Regions from separate parts of the Homo sapiens genome. Here regions 1, 2, 3, 4 and 5 are each linked to region 6. The links are contacts of gene promoters, found by promoter capture Hi-C in human tissues and cell types (Jung and others, 2019). All regions are on one chromosome and are shown on one strand. Each heading gives the region's core, a stretch centred on a gene start or on the middle of the fragment in contact. The rest is flanking DNA. Distances are from core to core; before and after follow the strand shown. Region 1 overlaps DEAF1 (DEAF1 transcription factor). Region 2 holds the start of IFITM3 (interferon induced transmembrane protein 3). Region 3 has its middle 21 kb from the start of IFITM3. Region 4 holds the start of TALDO1 (transaldolase 1). Region 5 overlaps DEAF1 (DEAF1 transcription factor). Region 6 holds the start of RNH1 (ribonuclease/angiogenin inhibitor 1).

What was found. Contacts are between HindIII fragments. The study calls those that stand out against the background at their distance.
Region 1: a fragment that was not itself captured here is called in contact with the fragment with the promoter of RNH1 in region 6 in 2 of the 25 tissues and cell types used here (dorsolateral prefrontal cortex and lymphoblastoid cells).
Region 2: the fragment with the promoter of IFITM3 here is called in contact with the fragment with the promoter of RNH1 in region 6 in 1 of the 25 tissues and cell types used here (IMR-90 fibroblasts).
Region 3: a fragment that was not itself captured here is called in contact with the fragment with the promoter of RNH1 in region 6 in 2 of the 25 tissues and cell types used here (IMR-90 fibroblasts and lymphoblastoid cells).
Region 4: a contact is called between the fragment with the promoter of TALDO1 here and the fragment with the promoter of RNH1 in region 6, in 7 of the 25 tissues and cell types used here (H1 embryonic stem cells, dorsolateral prefrontal cortex, liver and 4 more).
Region 5: a contact is called between a fragment that was not itself captured here and the fragment with the promoter of RNH1 in region 6, in 2 of the 25 tissues and cell types used here (liver and spleen).

What each region holds. Positions count from the first base shown.
Region 1 is chr11:647,046-650,118 of GRCh38, reverse strand. The region is part of intron 11 of DEAF1 (DEAF1 transcription factor); the gene reads left to right. Among named protein-coding and RNA genes, the nearest start is that of DRD4, 11 kb to the right of the region's middle. The HindIII fragment of the contact is 6,426 bases long and covers 1-3,073 here.
Region 2 is chr11:319,536-322,228 of GRCh38, reverse strand. IFITM3 (interferon induced transmembrane protein 3) reads left to right here and starts at 1,369. Exons shown (of 2, transcript NM_021034.3): 1 at 1,369-1,664; 2 at 2,239-2,553. The coding sequence starts at 1,416. The coding sequence ends at 2,391. All of the region lies in intron 1 of IFITM3-AS1 (IFITM3 antisense RNA 1), which reads right to left. RefSeq lists enhancers at 1,019-1,574, 2,687-2,693. The HindIII fragment of the contact is 9,942 bases long and covers 1-2,533 here.
Region 3 is chr11:340,516-343,431 of GRCh38, reverse strand. No RefSeq gene overlaps it. Among named protein-coding and RNA genes, the nearest start is that of IFITM3, 21 kb to the right of the region's middle. The HindIII fragment of the contact is 5,319 bases long and covers 1-2,916 here.
Region 4 is chr11:745,895-749,084 of GRCh38, reverse strand. TALDO1 (transaldolase 1) reads right to left here and starts at 1,621. Exons shown (of 8, transcript NM_006755.2): 1 at 1,507-1,621. The coding sequence starts at 1,603. LOC105376509 (a long non-coding RNA gene) reads right to left here. Exons shown (of 3, transcript XR_930962.3): 3 at 2,123-2,336. RefSeq lists silencers at 1,021-1,110, 1,211-1,500, 1,561-2,160 and enhancers at 1,340-1,988, 2,291-2,350, 1,989-2,637. The HindIII fragment of the contact is 22,782 bases long and covers 1-3,190 here.
Region 5 is chr11:664,480-667,364 of GRCh38, reverse strand. The region is part of intron 10 of DEAF1 (DEAF1 transcription factor); the gene reads left to right. Among named protein-coding and RNA genes, the nearest start is that of DRD4, 29 kb to the right of the region's middle. The HindIII fragment of the contact is 6,229 bases long and covers 1-2,885 here.
Region 6 is chr11:505,763-508,867 of GRCh38, reverse strand. RNH1 (ribonuclease/angiogenin inhibitor 1) reads left to right here and starts at 1,626. Exons shown (of 11, transcript NM_203387.3): 1 at 1,626-1,755. It also overlaps a transcript of LRRC56 not described here. RefSeq lists a cis regulatory region at 2,272 and an enhancer at 2,188-2,357. The HindIII fragment of the contact is 14,362 bases long and covers 1-3,105 here.

The DNA of each region.
Region 1 (3,073 bases), core at 529-3,028, 140 kb before region 6:
ACAGGTGTGAACCACCACACTAGTCTCTGCCTTTTGATTGGAGTGTTTAATCTACTTTTTTGTTTTGTTTTTGTTTTTGTTTTTGTTTTTGTTTTTTAGACAATCTCACTCTGTCGCCAGGCTGGAGTGCAATGGCACGATCTCAGCCCACTGCAACCTCAACGTCCCGGGTTCAAGTGATTTCCCTTCCTCAGCCTCCTGAGTAGCTGGGATTATAGGCATGAGCCACCACGTCCAACTAATTTTTGTGTTTTTAGTAGAGATGGGGTTTCTCCGTGTTGGCAAGGCTGGTCTCGAACTCCTGACCTCAGGTGATCCACTCGCCTCAGCCTCCCAAAGTTCTAAGATTACAGGTGTGAGCCACCGCACTGGAACTCGGCCTGTTTTGTTTTTTGAATTGAGACAGAGTATCACTTTGTTGCCCAGGCTGGAGTGCACTGGCGTAATCTCGGCTCACTGCAGCCTCCACCTCCTGGGTTTAAGGGATTCTCGTGCCTCATTCTCCCGAGTAACTGGGACTGCAGGAGTGTGCCATCAGACCCGGCTAATTTTTGTACTTTTAGTAGACACAGGGTTTCACCATGTTGGTCAGGCTGGTCTTGAGCTCCTGACCTCAAGTGATCCGCCCGCCTCGGCCTCCCAAACTGCTGGGATTATAGGTGTGAGCCACCACACCCAGCTGTTTTGTTTTTTTTTTTAAGTGGGGTCTCTCTCTGTCACCCAGGCCAGAGTGCAGTGGCACAATCTCAGCTCAGTGCAACCTCCGCTTCCCGGGTTCAAGCAATACTCCTCCTTCAGCCTCCCAAGTAACTGGGATTACAGGCACCCGCCACCATGCCCGTTTTTGTTGTTGTTGTTGTGTGTGTGTGTGATGGAGTCTCGCACGGTTGCCCAGGCTAGAGTGCAGTGGCGCAATCTCGGCTCACTGCAGCCTCTGCCTCCCGGGTTCAAGCGATTCTCCTGCCTCAGCCTCCCAAGTAGTTGGGATTACAGGCATGCACCACCATGCCAGGCTAATTTTTGTATTTTTCGTAGAGAGAGGGTTTTGCCATGTTGGCCAGGCTGGTCTTGAACTCCTGGGCTCAAGTAACCCTCCCACCTTGGCCTCCCAAAGTGCTGGGATTATAGGCATGAGCCACTGCGCAAAACCTAATCTCATGTTTAATGTAATTATCAATGTGAGTGGATTTGTGTTTATATTTGCAGTTTATGTTTCATGTTTTGCTCCTCTGTTCTTTCACTGCCTTCTTTTCTGTTAAATGTGTATTTTCTAGTTGTGTTTTCTAGTGTACCACTTCAATTCTTTTGTTGAACATTTTTAAACAGTATCTTTAAAGTTGTTATTTTCTTACTGCTATAGGTATTACAATATACATTTTAATTTATCTCAGTTTCAGTAGGAGGATAGAATTTCCTCAAGCAGGGAAAGTGTACTGCAGAGGCTGAGTGTATACATTCCTGGCAAACACTATTTGGGCCCCAATATAAGCACTTACTGAGCTCCTTTCACCTACAGAACGAACACATCCCGTTCTTTTAAAAGCTGCCTTCCAGCCGGACCTCCAGCCCAGGACACCCTGTCCTCAAGCCTCCCTCAGATCCTGTTCTTTAAAAAGCTGCCTTCAGCTGGGCACGGTGGCTCACGCCTGTAATCCCAGCACTTTGGGAGGCCGAGGCGGGCGGATCACGAGGTCAGGAGATCGAGACCATCCTGGCTAACATGGTGAAACCCCGTCTCTACTAAAAATACAAAAAAATTAGCTTGGCGTGGTGGTGGGCGCCTGTAGTCCCAGGTACTCGGGAGGCTGAGGCAGGAGAATGGCATGAACCCGGGAGGCGGAGCTTGCAGTGAGCCGAGATCGTGCCACAGCACTCCAGCCTGGGAGACAAAGGGAGACTCCGTCTCAAAAAAAAAAAAAAAAGGCAGTGATAATTTTAAAAATTAATTGTAGAGGACTTGGTATGTACACAAAAGTATACACGAGTTTATGCATGTTATGAAGCCCCAACAGGAATCCCCTGCTCCCAGCACCGCCTGGGTCAAGTCCACCCACCTGCTCCCAGCACCGCCTGGGTCAAGTCCACCCACCTGCTCCCAGCACCGCCTGGGTCAAGTCCACCCACCTGCTCCCAGCACCGCCTGGGTCAAGTCCACCCACCTGCTCCCAGCACCGCCTGGGTCAAGTCCACCCACCTGCTCCCAGCACCGCCTGGGTCAAGTCCACCCACCTGCTCCCAGCACCGCCTGGGTCAAGTCCACCCACCTGCTCCCAGCACCGCCTGGGTCAAGTCCACCCACCTGCTCCCAGCACTGCCTGGATTGAGTCACCTACGTGCTGTGGTGGCAACACTTTTCTTTTAATCCTTAACTTTGGAAAATGTGAGACGTGCACATGAGTTGGATCGCCCAGGAGAGGCCCGTCGCCCTCACCTGTATCAGCTGCTTTAGCGCCTGCCCTCCTGGCTTGTCCCCCTCTCTCTTTGGGCTGAGGGCTGAGCATTTTAAAGCAAGCCCCACGCATCATTATTTTCATTTGTGAGGCCTGGATCACTGTAAGTCAGATTTGGATTGTGTTTTAATTGGATTTTTAGTCACTGTTTTTATTTCATTACTTATTTTTGGTTTTTATTTGTTCGTTTGTTTTTGGTTTTGTTTCTGTTTTTGAGACAGGGTCTGGCTCTGTCACCCAGGCTGGAGTGCAGCGGCGCGATCTTGGCTCACTGCAACCTCCACTTCCCAGGTTCAAGCGATTCTCCTGCCTCAGCCTCCCTAGTAGCTGGGGATTACAGGCACCCGCCACCACGTCCGGCTAATTTTTGTATTTTTAGCAGAGACGGGGTTTCACCATGTTGTTCAGGCTGGTCTTGAACTCCTGACCTCATGATCTGCCTGCCTTGGCCTCCCAAAGTGCTGAGATTACTGGCATGAGCCACCGTACCCAGCCTATTTTAGGTTTTCTATAGACAGGGTCTCGCTTTGTCACCCAGGCTGCAGTCCAGTGGTGCCATCACGGCTCACTACAGCCTTGATCTCCTGGCTCAAGTGATCCTCCTGCCTCTGTCTCCCAAGTAG
Region 2 (2,693 bases), core at 120-2,619, 190 kb after region 6:
GCTGCCTGGGCACCATAGTGAAGGTAATGGGATAATCCAGCTGCCTGGGCACCACAGTGAGGGTTATGGGATAATCCAGCTGCCTGGGCACCACACTGAAGGTAATGGGATAATCCGGCTGCCTGGGCACCACACTGAAGGTAATGGGATAATCCGGCTGCCTGGGCACCACAGTGAGGGTTATGGGATAATCCAGCTGCCTGGGCACCATAGTGAAGGTAATGGGATAATCCAGCTGCCTGGGCACCACACTGAAGGTAATGGGATAATCCGGCTGCCTGGGCACCACACTGAAGGTAATGGGATAATCCGGCTGCCTGGGCACCACAGTGAGGGTTATGGGATAATCCAGCTGCCTGGGCACCATAGTGAAGGTAATGGGATAATCCAGCTGCCTGGGCACCACAGTGAGGGTTATGGGATAATCCAGCTGCCTGGGCACCACACTGAAGGTAATGGGATAATCCGGCTGCCTGGGCACCACACTGAAGGTAATGGGATAATCCGGCTGCCTGGGCACCACAGTGAGGGTTATGGGATAATCCAGCTGCCTGGGCACCATAGTGAAGGTAATGGGATAATCCGGCTGCCTGGGCACCACAGTGAGGGTTATGGGATAATCCAGCTGCCTGGGCACCATAGTGAAGGTAATGGGATAATCCAGCTGCCTGGGCACCATAGTGAAGGTAATGGGATAATCCAGCTGCCTGGGCACCATAGTGAAGGTAATGGGATAATCCAGCTGCCTGGGCACCATAGTGAAGGTAATGGGATAATCCAGCTGCCTGGGCACCATAGTGAAGGTAATGGGATAATCCAGCTGCCTGGGCACCATAGTGAAGGTAATGGGATAATCCAGCTGCCTGGGCACCACAGTGAGGGTTATGGGAGACGGGGTTTCACCGTGTCAGCCAGGATGGTCTCGATCTCCTGACCTCATGATCCTCCCACCTCAGCCTCCCAAAGTGCTGGGATTACAGGCGTGAGCCGCGGCGCCCGGCAGAGGTGAGGGCTTTGGGGGAACGGTTGTGGGGCCTGGAGTGTGGAGGCGTCAGCGCAGGCCTGGCAGGAGCCCTGAACCGGGACAGTGGGGTCCTGCAGCTGCTGGCCTGGGGTGTGGAGACCCCCAACACAGGGGAAGTCTCCAGGACCCCACACCACTAACAAGATGAGCCTTGTGCTCCCTTGGGCTCTAGAGAGGAAGCCCCTCTTAGCCCTCAGCCCCTCTTTCCTCCCTCTCCTAAAGTAATTTGATCCTCAGGAATTTGTTCCGCCCTCATCTGGCCCCGGCCAAATCCCGATTTGACAAATGCCAGGAAAAGGAAACTGTTGAGAAACCGAAACTACTGGGGAAAGGGAGGGCTCACTGAGAACCATCCCAGTAACCCGACCGCCGCTGGTCTTCGCTGGACACCATGAATCACACTGTCCAAACCTTCTTCTCTCCTGTCAACAGTGGCCAGCCCCCCAACTATGAGATGCTCAAGGAGGAGCACGAGGTGGCTGTGCTGGGGGCGCCCCACAACCCTGCTCCCCCGACGTCCACCGTGATCCACATCCGCAGCGAGACCTCCGTGCCCGACCATGTCGTCTGGTCCCTGTTCAACACCCTCTTCATGAACCCCTGCTGCCTGGGCTTCATAGCATTCGCCTACTCCGTGAAGGTGCGTATGGCCCCAGGGAATGCTCAGAGGGTGCCGCTGAGCCTGGAGCTCCACCTGCCCACATGCTGCCTGGGGTGGGGACTTGTGTGTCCCTGTGACTGTGAGTTTGTGTGCACCTCTGTCCCGTGTGTGCCCACGTCAGTGGCTTTGTCTGTGTGATCTGTGTGTGTGTGTGGCTTGGGGAATCTGCCCAGTGCAGGTTTAGGAGGAGGCTCCAGGAGGCTGGCTGGCTGGCTCAGAGTCTGTCCCCGGCTATCCACTAGCCCAGAGCAGTTCTCCCTATAGCCCAGTAAGAAATTACACCTTCACCTTCCAGACTGGCACCCAGGCTCTCCCAGAAAGTGAGAAGGGAACTCACAGGTGACTTCACCCCATGGTGGGGAGAACAGCCTGTGCTGAGGTCAAGGCAGAAGGAGGATGAGCCCCGAGGCTCCTGGAGAGTCTGAGCCCGGGTGAGGAAGGGGAGGAGGTGGTCCCTGATCTCAGGGCGGGGAGAGCCAATGAGGAGACGGAGCCATAGCACGCGGCTCTCAGCTGGGGGATCCTGGTCCCCTCACCATCTCCTCTCCCCCAGTCTAGGGACAGGAAGATGGTTGGCGACGTGACCGGGGCCCAGGCCTATGCCTCCACCGCCAAGTGCCTGAACATCTGGGCCCTGATTCTGGGCATCCTCATGACCATTCTGCTCATCGTCATCCCAGTGCTGATCTTCCAGGCCTATGGATAGATCAGGAGGCATCACTGAGGCCAGGAGCTCTGCCCATGACCTGTATCCCACGTACTCCAACTTCCATTCCTCGCCCTGCCCCCGGAGCCGAGTCCTGTATCAGCCCTTTATCCTCACACGCTTTTCTACAATGGCATTCAATAAAGTGCACGTGTTTCTGGTGCTGCTGCGACTTCACCTGGGGAGGGGTCTGGCTGAGGGTTCGGAGCGTGGTTCTGAGACTGAGCAGGTTGGTCAGCCCCTGCACTGCCCCTTCCGGCCTCTGTGCATCTCTTGGGGACCGGGCAAGTGCTCAGGCCTTC
Region 3 (2,916 bases), core at 74-2,573, 170 kb after region 6:
TATCAGAAACTGAACTGGGCCTAGTAGGCATCTTCACATAGGTAAGGGTTTGGGAAGACAGAATAATGAGTTTATCTGAATCCACAGAGTCTGAGATTCCTCCACCTGAGAACCAGTACTTGTCTAGAGAAACTGGTGAACTTTACCAAAGACACCTTAGAATTAAGTGGTGGCCGCAGTGGGTAAGTGATGACCTAGACAAAGCTGTTCATCTGTGGTATCCACTGCAAAAGATGGGATCCAAAGCAACTAAGAGAAAATGGAATGCATTTTTTAATTCACATGTTGTTTTTGACACAGAGTCTCACTCTGTCACCCAGGCTGGAGTGCAGTAGTGTGATCTCGGCTCACTGCAACCTCCACCTCCTGGGTTCAAGTGATTCTCCTGCCTCAGCCTCCTGAGTAGCTGGGACTACAGGCATGCACCACCAAGCCCAGCTAATTTTTTGTATTTTTAGTAGAGATGGGTTTTCGCCATGTTGCCGGGCTGGTCTCGAACTCCTGAGCTCAAGTGATCCATCTGCCTCAGCCTCCCAAAGTGCTGGGATTACAGGCGAGAACCTCCATGCCCAGATGATTTTTTGATTGGCATGCACAGGCTGCTAAAAGACTAAATGAATCCCAAGTTGTCTCTCTAAAAGACTCCATAGAAAAAGGCAAATAGAAAACCAAAGCAGTTAATTGACAATGAAAAAGGGCATGTCTACTGACTCAGCACAGATGAGCCCTTCTCTCTTTCTCTCCATCTTGCTCTGCCAGATTGCTCTGAACTACTCACTTTTTTGCTCAGTAACTTTTATACCCCAGAGGCAAAAAGAAAGTTAGCCAAACTTTCATCGTGTTAGGCCTTTAGATCAACCAGGCCTTCCTTCTTTAACCACATTGACATCTTGATTAAAATCTGAGCTCAGAACAATAGTGAAAGGTTTCCCTGTCCCAGAAATTTGCTGATGATGTAGAATTATATCCTGGCCTATTCATGCTAACTCCAGGCATGGAAAATGCTTGCCAGTTCATCAGTAGGCGCCACCCTGAACTCAGTGATGGAGTTAAAAAGCATAAACTGGGCTGAGAAGCCTCTGATCTAGCCAACGTAGGCCCCAAATGTGCTACTCTGGCATAAAGATTATTTTGATCCAATTCTTTTGAGACCCTTTGTAAGAAAAATTTAATTCTATAAAGGAGATAGAAGTGGTGGCTCATGCCTATAATGCCAGCACTTTGGGAGGCTGAGGGAGGAGGGTTGCTTGAGCCCAGGAGTTCAAGACCAGCCTGGGTGACATAGTAAGAGTCGGTGTATTAGTCCCTTCTCTCATTGCTGTAAAGAACTATCTGAGTCTGGGTAATTTATACAGAAAAGAGGTTTAGGCTGGGTGTGGTGGCTCATGCCTTAATCACAGCACTTTGGGAGGCTGAGGCAGGTTGAGGTCAGGAGTTTGAGACCAGCCTGGCCAACATGGTGAAACCCCATCTCTACTAAAAATACAAAAATTAGCCAGGTATGGTGGCGTGCACCTGTAATCCCAGCTACTCAGCTGGCTAAGGCAGGACAATTGCTTCAGTCTGGGAGGTGGACGTTGTAGTGAGCTGAGATCGCGCCACTGCACTCCAGCCTGGGTGACACAGCAAGACTGTGTCTCAAAAAAAAAAAAGGCAAAAGAAAAGAGGACACATGGCTGGGGAGGCCTCAGGAAAGTTACAATCATGGCAGAAGGTGAAGAGGAAGGGGGCACGTCTTGCATGGCTGGAGCAGGAGGAAGAGACAGAAGGGGGAGGTGCCACACACTTTTAAACAACCAGATCTCATGAGAACTCACTATCCTGAGAACAGCAAGGGGTAAGTCTGCCCCCATGATCCAATCACCTCCCACCAGGCTCCTCCTCCAACACTGAGGATTACAATTTGACATGAGATTTGGGTGGGGACACAAATCCAAACCCTCTCACCCCATCTTTACAAAGAAATTTAACCAACAGTTTGAGGTTGCAGTGAGCTATGATCGCACCACTGCACTCCAGCCGGGTTGTAAAATAAGACTCTGTCTCAAAACAAAACAAAACAAAACAAAGTAAACAACAAAAAAAAAGAATGGAGAAAGCATTGATTTAAATCTACATCACAAAACTTACCTTTACTTAGCGTGCATTTCTGACCCCCATCTTGGCTTAATTAGCGCTTTGCTTGCTTTCTCTCTCTTTTTTCTTTTCTTTTCTTTCCTTTCCTTTTCCTTCCTTCCTTTCTTTCTCATTCCTTCCTTCTTCCCTTCCCTTTCCTTCCTTTCTTCCTTCCCTCCTTCCTCCTCTTTCCTTTTCCTTCCTTCCTTTTCTTTTTCTTTCTTTCTTTTTTCTTTCTTTCCTTCCTTCCTTCTTTCCTTGTTCTTGCTTTTTTCTTTCTTCTTTCCTTCCCTTCCCTTCCCTTCCCTCCCTTCCTTCCTTCTTTCTTTCCTTGTTCTTGCTTGCTTGCTTTTTTCTTTCTTTCCTTTCCTTCCCTTCCCTTCCCATCCCTTCCCCTTCCTTCCTTCCTTCCTTCTTTCTCCTTCTCTTTTTTTCTCTTCCTTTCTTTCTTTTCTCTTTCTCTTTCTTTTTTTCATTTCTTTCTTTTTTTCTCTTCTTCAAATGAAGATATTTAAGGCTGAAGTCTAAGTTCTGTGCCTTTGAGATGTAAATTTTCTACTCTGCTCAAACACCTGAGGGTTATCTCTTTGATATGCAAATTTTGGGAAGCCATCTTATGAGAAAAGAAAAAAAAAGAGCTATATGGAAATTGGGCAAATGAAAAACCTTAAGTCTTTCCCGCAAATATTAATAAAAGCTTTAATCATCTGGCAAGTAATTTTGACTTGTTCCATGTGCCAGAAACAAGATTTGAAGCCTATTGTTCTTGTATTAAACAGTGTGTTTTGTATTACTGTGCTT
Region 4 (3,190 bases), core at 372-2,871, 240 kb before region 6:
AACCCAGGACTCCCCAGCCCTCCTGTGGGTGTGGGTTTAGGAAAATCCATCTTTATTGGCCCTGCACTGCCAAGTGTAATGGACCTGACACTCCGCACCAGCTCTGCCCTAACTGGTGAGGGCCAGTAAGGAACAATACAGATGAGCGCTCTGTCCACCAGGCAAACTGCAAATTATTCTCAGTGCTAAGAAGGGAAAAAACTGAGCAGCAGAAAAATGTGTAGCCCCTTTTCTGGAGCTTTCTTTCTTATGAAGAGAGGTCTGGACTACAACGGGGGGGCTGTGTGTGTGAGGGATTCACAGCTCTAGCTTTGGATCTCCCAAAGAGGGGTCCGGAGCAGACTGTGGCACCCCAAGCCAGTCACTGAATCCCCATATTTTATGGTTAAGCAGCCAAACATGCCAATTCACTCTCTAGGCTCTGCTAGATAAACAATGCCCTTACTCAGTTACCAAAGAGGAATTAAAGCCTGTTTCTCAAGTCACCATGAGAAAGCAGAAAAGAGAGGAAGTCACTTCCGTATTAGGTGCTCGCAGCATTCATCCATGAAGCGTTTCATGATTTTCTTAAAAAATATTACTTGTTCTCAACAAAACATAGACACAAGGCTCGTCTACTCTGCACTGCAGAGGACAGAAGAGCTAAGTATTAATAAATAATCCTTCTTTGTATTTTCCAAGTTCTCTCCAATGTAAACAACTCAAGCCCAGGAAAATCCAGTATTTAACAGTGTACCAACCCTGTGCTTTCATGGGCACCGGCTTTTACCCACCCGGTGCGTCTGGCGGTGGCTGTCCAGCAGGCCGGGCACCTGCCGCCCACGGAGTTGTCCCACTGGGCACCGCAGGGCTCAAGGGCGATGGCAGCACTGGCAGCTTCTGGTCAGAGCTAGCTGATGTCCCCGCTCTGCAGACATCAGCCCAACAAAATTGCATCTCGCTGACCACAAACTGGCCACGTGGAAGTCAGCTCGAAGCTCTACCCTGAATCTCTCCTGAACTCAAAGGCTCTGAAAGCTGCCTCGACCCATGAAGGTGCACAGAGGGGCTCCCGCGGGCTGCCCACAGCCCGTCCCGGGTGCGGGGTCTGAGGGCGCAGCCGACCCCACCCTGGGCGGAGGGCGAGGCTGGGGCTCCGGCTTCGTGCCCCACGGCTCGCAAGGACCCGTCAGTACCGCCCGCACCGCTGACCCCAGCACCGAGCCCCTCACGGCTGACCCCAGCTCCTCACGGCTGCCCCCGGCCCTGCTCCCTCACGGCCGACCCGGGCCCCGTTCCCCTCACGGTCGCCGCTGGCCCTGCGCCTCTCACGGCCGACCCGGGCCCCGCTCCCCTCACGGCTGTCCCTGGCCCCAACATCCGGCACCTGCGCTCATTCCTCCCGGAACGAGCCGCCCGGGGCACCGCCACCCGGTCCGCGTCCCGGAACGGGAGACCCGGGGAAATCGGGGCGCCGGGGCCTCTGGAGGGCGCTTGCGCCGCGCCCGGGCTCCGCGCCGTCCTCACCGTGGAAGTCGCCCGTGTCGGCCACCACGGTGGTGAACTGCTTGAGCTGGTCCAGCGCGGACTCCATCCTCTGACGCTTCACGGGTGAGCTCGACATAGCAAGACCGAGGGGTCTGCGGCGGCGGCGGCGGCGACGGGACGGGCGCGCGGACGGCCCACAATGCCCCGCGGGCGGCTGCCAATCGGAAAGCGGCGCGGGAGGGCGAGGCCCGCTGGTCCCTGCGCGCCTGGACGAAGCCCCGCCCCCGGGGACGAAGCCCGAGCGCCACTGCCGGCCGCGCACCGCAGCTGCGGATCCTACAGGCTGGGTCTCCCCAGGTCCTCAGCAGCCGCCGCGGACGGGCCCGGGAAAACACCTGCACGACACGGGGCGGCTGGGCCTCGCCTCCTTCCTGCCCCGCGGGACGCACCGGGAGGGCTGGAGGAGATGGACCTGGCCCGGGTGCCGACTCTGCGGGGCTGAACCCGCCAGGGCCGAACCCGGCGATGCAGGATCCATGGTGGGGCCAGGACTGGGGTCGGGGGCCGCTGCAGGAAGCAGGGGAGGGAGCGGCGGGGGACGCCCTGCGGGTGCAGGAGGCAGAGCAGGGGGCGGCTGCAGAGCCCGGGCGCCGGACGCGGCGGGGAACCTGCTTCTGGGAATCTGTTCCCCTGAGTCCTAAGCCCAGAGGTGTCCGGGGGACCGAACGGCGAGGCAGGCGTAGGAGGCCCAGCTGCCCTGCTTCTTACCATCGCTGACTTGCAGAGTTCCTTGTATATTCTGATCAAGTCTCTGTCGCTTGTGTCTGCGTTGCAGACACTGTAACCGCCCCATGGGTTCGCCTTGCCAGCTGCCGGGACAGAGTCTATTGTCAAGACAGGGGAATTGCAATAGAGAAAGCATAATTCACACAGAGCCGATTGTTCGGGAGACCAGAGTTTTATTCCTCAAATCAGTCTCCCCAAAACTCGGGGATCCCAGTATTTAAGAATAATTTGGTGGGTAGGGGGCCAGTGAGTCAGAAGTGCTGACTGGTCAGCTAGGGATGAAATCACAGGGAGTCGAAGCTGTCCGCTTATGCTGAGTCAGTCCCTGGGTAGAGGCCACACAACTGGTTGGCAGGTCCAGGTGGGGCCATCCGGTTGTCAGAAATGCAAAAACCTGAAAAGACTTTTTTTTTTTTTTGAGACGGAATCTCGCCCTTGTTGCCCAGGCTGGAGTGCAGTGGCGCGATCTTGGCTAACTACAACCTCCGCCTCCCGGGTTCGAGCGATTTTCCTGCCTCAGCCTCCCGAGTAGCTGGAATTACAGGCGCTCACCACCACGCCCGGCTAATTTTTGTATTTTTAGTACAGACGGGGTTTCATCATGTTGGCCAGCATGGTCTCGATCTCCTGACCTCGTGATCCGCCCACCTCAGTCTCCCAAAGTGCTGGGATTCCAGGCGTGAGCCACCGCGCCCGGCGGAAAAGACTTCTTAAAAGGCAAATCCTAGGCTGACGCGGTGGCTCAGGCCTGGAATCCCAGCACATTGAAAGGCCAAAGCAGGCGATCACTTGAGGTCAGGAGTTGGAGACCAGCGTGGCCAACATGCAAAACCCCGTCTCTACTAAAAATACAAAATTAGCCAGGCGTGGTGGCACATGGCTGTAATCCCAGCTACTTGGGAGGCTGAGGCAGGAGAATGGCTTGAACCTGGGAGGT
Region 5 (2,885 bases), core at 243-2,742, 160 kb before region 6:
CCTCCCTCCATCCCTCCCTTCCTTCCTTCTTTTTTCTTTCTTTTTTGAGACAGGGTCACTGTCTGTCACCGAGGCTAAGAAGCAGTGTTGTGGTCACATCTCAATGCAGCCTTGAGTTCCTGGGCTCAGGTGATCTTCCCTTAGCCTCCAGAGTAGCTAGGACTACCGGCACTGGCCACTACTCCCGGCCAATTTTTAGCTGGGGTTTCACCATGATGCCCAGGCTGGCCGCAAACTCCTTGGCTCAAGCGATCCTCTTACCTCAGCCTTCTGAGTAGCTGGGACTACACATGTGTACCACCATGCCCAGCTATTTTTTTGTTTGTTTTGTATAGATGGGGTTTCACTATGTTTCTCAGGCTGGTCTTGAACTCCTGGACTCAAGCAACCCACCTTCCTTGGCCTCCTAAAGTACTGGGATTACCAGCATGAACCACTGCTCCTGGCTATAACTATTTCTTTTTTTCTTTTTTTTTTTTTTTTTTTTTTTTGGAGACAGAGTCTTGCTCTCCAGGCTAGAGTGCAGTGACACGATCTCAGCTCACTGCAAGCTCTACCTCCCAGGTTCAAGCGATCTCTTGCCTCAGCCTTCCAAGTAGATGGGACTACAAGTGTGCACCACCACACCTGGCTAATACTTTGTTGTTTTGTTTTGTTTTGAGACGGAGTCTTGCTCTGTCGCCCAGGGTTGGAGTGCAGTGGCACGATCTCAGCTCACTGCAACCTCTGCCTCCCGGGTTCAAGTGATTCTCCTGCCTCAGCCTCCCGAGTAGCTGGGACTACAGGTGCATGCCACCACTCCTGGCTAATTTTCTGTATTTTTGGTAGAGAGGAGGTTTCACCATGTTAGCCAGGATGTTCACAATCTCCTAACCTCGTGATCTGCCCGCCTGGGATTACAGGTGTGAGCCACCGTGCCCAGCCTCAGGATCTGCTTCTTTTGGCTACTTTTTCCCTTCATCATGGATCCTGTTATCCCTTCTTCACACGTCCAGTACTTCCTGATTGTGTGTTGGAATTTTAGTTTATATACTGTTTATATGGTAGAGTTTATATGGTAGAGACTCTGAATTTTGTTGGATTCTGTTGTCTTCCCCTGAAGAGTGTTGGGCTTTGTTCTCGCAGGCTGAATTCTTATGGATCACCCTGAAGAGGATCAGTGTTGATGCTGTTAGGGCAGGTCTGTCTGGCTTTTTCTTCTGCCTGACACATCCTTAGTCTTGGATCTGCGAAGCTGTGGTTTTCTGGATGTTCCTGGGAAGTCCGTGGTGTTTTTAAGCCTCTAACTTGTGAAGGTTCAAACTCCAGACTTTCAGGTGGTGAGCAGCAGCCGCAGTCTCTGCTCAGTGTTCTCGGTCTTCAGCCGTCCATTTCTGCTGAGTCTTCCCCACATGCTGTGTCATCAGCTCAGGGTCAAACAAGGACGTGGGGAGCGTTTATGTGCTGGATGGGAGTGTCCTCTCTCTGTGCTTGCTCCTTTCTAGGGTTTCTCCCCTCATTTTCCAGCCACTTTGTCAGCTCTGGCCAGGGTGACTGCAGCCTGCTACCACGGTGTGGCCGCCCATGTCTGGTGGCCTGGGGCTGCCTCCAGGAGAAGCCTTCCTGGCTCCATCTCCCTGCTACGTCACCTGTCCCTGCTATGTCACCTGGCTGCCTCTCTCCCCTGCTCATTTGGCAGCCAGAGTGTCTGATGCTGCTGCGTCAGCTGGGTCCCTGCCCTGAAAGGCTGGGCTTTGAATTTTATTAGTAATTTTATGTATTTCTATGAGAGAAATGTGGCATGAAATCCCTTTATCCTTAAAATCCCGTTTGGTAGACAGCCAAGCCTTTTAAAACGTTAGAAAGGGCGGCCCCTTTCTCAGCTGGAAGCAGCTGTTGCAGTGAACATCCCGTGCATCTGAAAATGTCAGGAGTTAGAAGAAATGTCAGGAAGTGTTAGAAGCGATGTGTTCCCTTTCTCTAAAGCTGTGTATCGGACGTGTCATTCATAAAGCCATTACTTGAATAGCTGAGCCAGGACTCAGAGGCTCTGAGTGTGACACCCTGTCCTCCTCCTCTCAGTGTGAATAGCTGAGCCAGGACTTAGTTAGAGTGACCGAGTGTGACACCCTGTCCTCCTCCTCTCAGTGTGAATAGCTGAGCCAGGACTTACTTAGAGTGACCGAGTGTGACACCCTGTCCTTCTCCTCTCGGTGTGAATAGCTGAGCCAGGACTTACTTAGAGTGACCGAGTGTGACACCCTGTCCTCCTCCTCTCGGTGTGAATAGCTGAGCCAGGACTCAGAGTGACCGAGTGTGACGCCCTGTCCTCCTCCTCTCGGTGTGAATAGCTGAGCCAGGACTCAGAGTGACCGAGTGTGACGCCCTGTCCTCCTCCTCTCGGTGTGAATAGCTGAGCCAGGACTCAGAGTGACCGAGTGTGACGCCCTGTCCTCCTCCTCTCGGTGTGAATAGCTGAGCCAGGACTCAGAGTGACCGAGTGTGACGCCCTGTCCTCCTCCTCTCGGTGTGAATAGCTGAGCCAGGACTCAGAGTGACCGAGTGTGACGCCCTGTCCTCCTCCTCTCGGTGTGAATAGCTGAGCCAGGACTCAGAGTGACCGAGTGTGACGCCCTGTCCTCCTCCTCTCGGTGTGAATAGCTGAGCCAGGACTCAGAGTGACCGAGTGTGACGCCCTGTCCTCCTCCTCTCGGTGTGAATAGCTGAGCCAGGACTCAGAGTGACCGAGTGTGACGCCCTGTCCTCCTCCTCTCGGTGTGAATAGCTGAGCCAGGACTCAGAGTGACCGAGTGTGACGCCCTGTCCTCCTCCTCTCGGTGTGAATAGCTGAGCCAGGACTCAGAGTGACCGAGTGTGACGCCCTGTCCTCCTCCTCTCGGTGTGAA
Region 6 (3,105 bases), core at 377-2,876:
TTCATCATCTTGGCCAGGCTGGTCTTGAACTCCTGACCTCAGGTGATCTGCCTGCCTTGGCCTCCCAAAGTGTTGGAATTACAGGTGTGAGCCACCGCGCCCAGCCAGAGTTTCATCTTGTTGCCCGAACTGGAGTGCAATGGTGTGGTCTAGGCTCGCTGCAACCTCTGCTTCCCGTGTTCAAGCGATTCTCCTGCCTCAGCCTCCCAAGTAGCTGGAATTACAGGTGCCCACCACCATGCCTGGCTAATTTTTGTATTTTTAGTAGAGATGGGGTTTCACCACGTTGGCCAGGCTGGTCTTGAACTCCTGACCTCAGGTGATCCACCCTTCTCGGTCTCCCAAAGTGTTGGGGTTACAGGTGTGAGCCACCACGCCCGGCCAGAACCACCTTCTTTAAAGATGATCAGGCCGGGTGTAGTGGCTTATGCCAGTAATTCCAGCGATATGGGAGGCTGAAGCAGGAGGATCACTTGAGCCCAATTCAAGACCAGGCTGGGCAACACAGGGAGACCTCTTCTCTACATAAAATACAACAATTAGCCAGGCGTGCTGGCGCCTGTGGTACCAGCTACTTGGGAGGCTGAGGCGGGAGGATCACTGGAGTCCGGGAGGTGGAGGCTGCAGCGAGCTGGGATCGCGCCACTGCAGTACAGCCTAAGCAGTGGAGTGAGACCCTGTCTCGAAAACAAATACCTAATAAAGGCAGTCAGAGGAGAGGTTTAGCAAATTGCTAAAGAACAAATCTGAGATACCGTTAGTTTCCTTACTTGCAATCTTCATCTGCCAAAATGTCAATTCTGTGAATTGCGGACTAGTCAAAAACTTAAAGAAAACCCACTTTTGTGGAGGTGGGGTCGCTTTGCGTTTCCCAGGCTGGTCTGGAACTCGGCCTGCGCCCCTCAGTGCCAGGGCTCCAGGCGACGCTCGGGTGTCGGCAGCAGAGTGGACGCAGGAGCAGCTCGGACCGCGCTCAGAACACTCGGGACGAGGCCGCGGCTCCGCAGGCCTTGCGGGCTGGGGTCCCACGAAACAAAGGCGGCAGCCAGTGGCCAGGACGGGCAGCGTGGTTCACGGGGCCGTGGCTCCCTCGGGGGTCGCGAGCTCGGCGCAAACGAGCCCCTCTACCAAGGTCGCCTAGAGTCGCGACCCCGACATGCGGAGCCGCCCCAGGGGGGTTTCTCCCGGGTCCCTCCTGTCCCGAGGCGGCCGCTTTCTCCGGGGGCCGCGCCCCGCGCCCCAGCAAGGCCCGACCCGCGCCTGCGATTCCGCCCCCAAGGCGCTGCCGCACCGGGCCCCGGCCTCTTCCTCCGAGGATTCTCAGGAATTGCTGAGACTTGCGTGCCAGTGCGAGGCCCACAACACGCACACGCGCCCGCGCCCGCCAGACCCCGCCCCCGGCACCAAGCCCCGCCTACTGGGGGAGACCACGCCCCCAAGCGAGACCTCCCTCACCGAGCCACGCCCCACCAGGCCCCGCCGCTGCGCCAAGACTGTGCTTAGCCGAGCCCCGCCCGCCGGGCCCCGCCCCGACCCCGAGACTACTCCCGCCAGGCCCCGCCCCCGCGCCGAGCCCCGCCCAGTAGTCCCCGCCCACGCACCTGACCACGCCCACGAGCCGGCTCGAACACGCCCGCGCCGCTGACTGGCGGGTGGGGTTGTCGACACGTTCAACCCGTTCTGCTGGCTCGAGAACGAAGTAGGCCGTCTCGCTCTGGGTCTCCAGGCCCGCGACCGTCCGCCAGTCGTCCCGAGGTCAGTAGCTCCAGCGGTGCGTCAGCGTCTAGCCAGGCCTCGCCCACGCCGGCCTTGGTCGGGCTTCTTGTAGACGCGGGCCTGGCGCTATTGAGGCCGTTGCTGCGCGGGCGAGTGGCGCGCTCCCGTGGCGGGGCGGGGTCGGGCGGGGCAGGGGTCCGGGGCTATCGAGGCGGGGCCGAGGTTGCGCTGGGCAGCTGCGCCGCCGGGCGGACGTGGCGCGCCTTGAGGACGTCATCGCGGTGCACGCTCCCCTTTGGGGCTTGCCGGAAGTCCTTGCCCGGGGCGCGGGGCTGCGCCTGCGTGGTTCGTCCTCACGTGGCCGTCAAGCCCTCTAGTGCCTTAGATTCCAGCGAGCTACGCAAGCAATCCTGGCCCAGCCGAGCTTGCTTCCCCAAATCCCGTAATCCTTGACCTTATTCCCCCAAAGAAGCGGCCTCCCGGGAAGGAGCGCCCTGGCGGAGAAGACTCGAACGGCTCCCACAGCCGGGCGTTGGGGGAAAGGTGGGCGGTCTTGGTCGTGCGAGGTCGGGGAGGGAGGGTCCTCCGCTCTCCATTGCGGAGCTTCGCTCCGGGACCACCGGGGGACCGGACGCCGGGCCGCGAAGCTGCCGCCTGGGGCTGCGGGGAGGAGAGCAACATAACTGGAATGGCACTTAGGGGCCGGTGTCAGGGTTGTCACCGGGGTTGGCGGAAATGACGAAGGGGCCCCAGGCACGTCGTGTTACTGGGCGAGGTTCCAGCCAAGGTGCCCACGCGCCTTGGGGGAAACCAGAGGACTTCTGCACCGTTTCCCGAGGACAGTTTGGCAGTGTTTCAGAAGGGCCTTAGAACCAGGCAGGCCCCCTTCTAGGATGGTGGAAAGCCTAAAGATCTGAAAACGGTCTCAAGTGTCGTCTTAGCGATTGGCTGACTAAACCGAATGCAAGCCGGAGACTGCACACGATGTTGCCGTTAACAGTTACACTGGGCCGGGCAGTCAGAGGCAGGCGGATCACCTGAGGTCAGGAGTTCGAGAACAGCCTGGCCAACATGGTGAAAACCCGTCTCTACTAAAAATACAAAATTAGCCGGGCGTGGTGGCAGGCGCCTATAATCCCAGCTACTTGGGAGGTTGAGGTAGGAGAATGGCTTGAACTCAGGAGGCGGAGGTTGCGGTGAGCCGAGATCGTGCCACTGCACTCCAGCCGGCTGACAAGAGCGAAACTCCTTCTCAAAAAAAAAAAAAAAAAAAAAAAGTTACATTAGGCTGGGTGCGCTGCAGCCTGTAATCCCAGCACTTTGGGAGGCCGAGGCGGGCGGATCTCTTGAGCCCAGGAGTTTGCGACCAACATACTGAGTTTGGCCAAA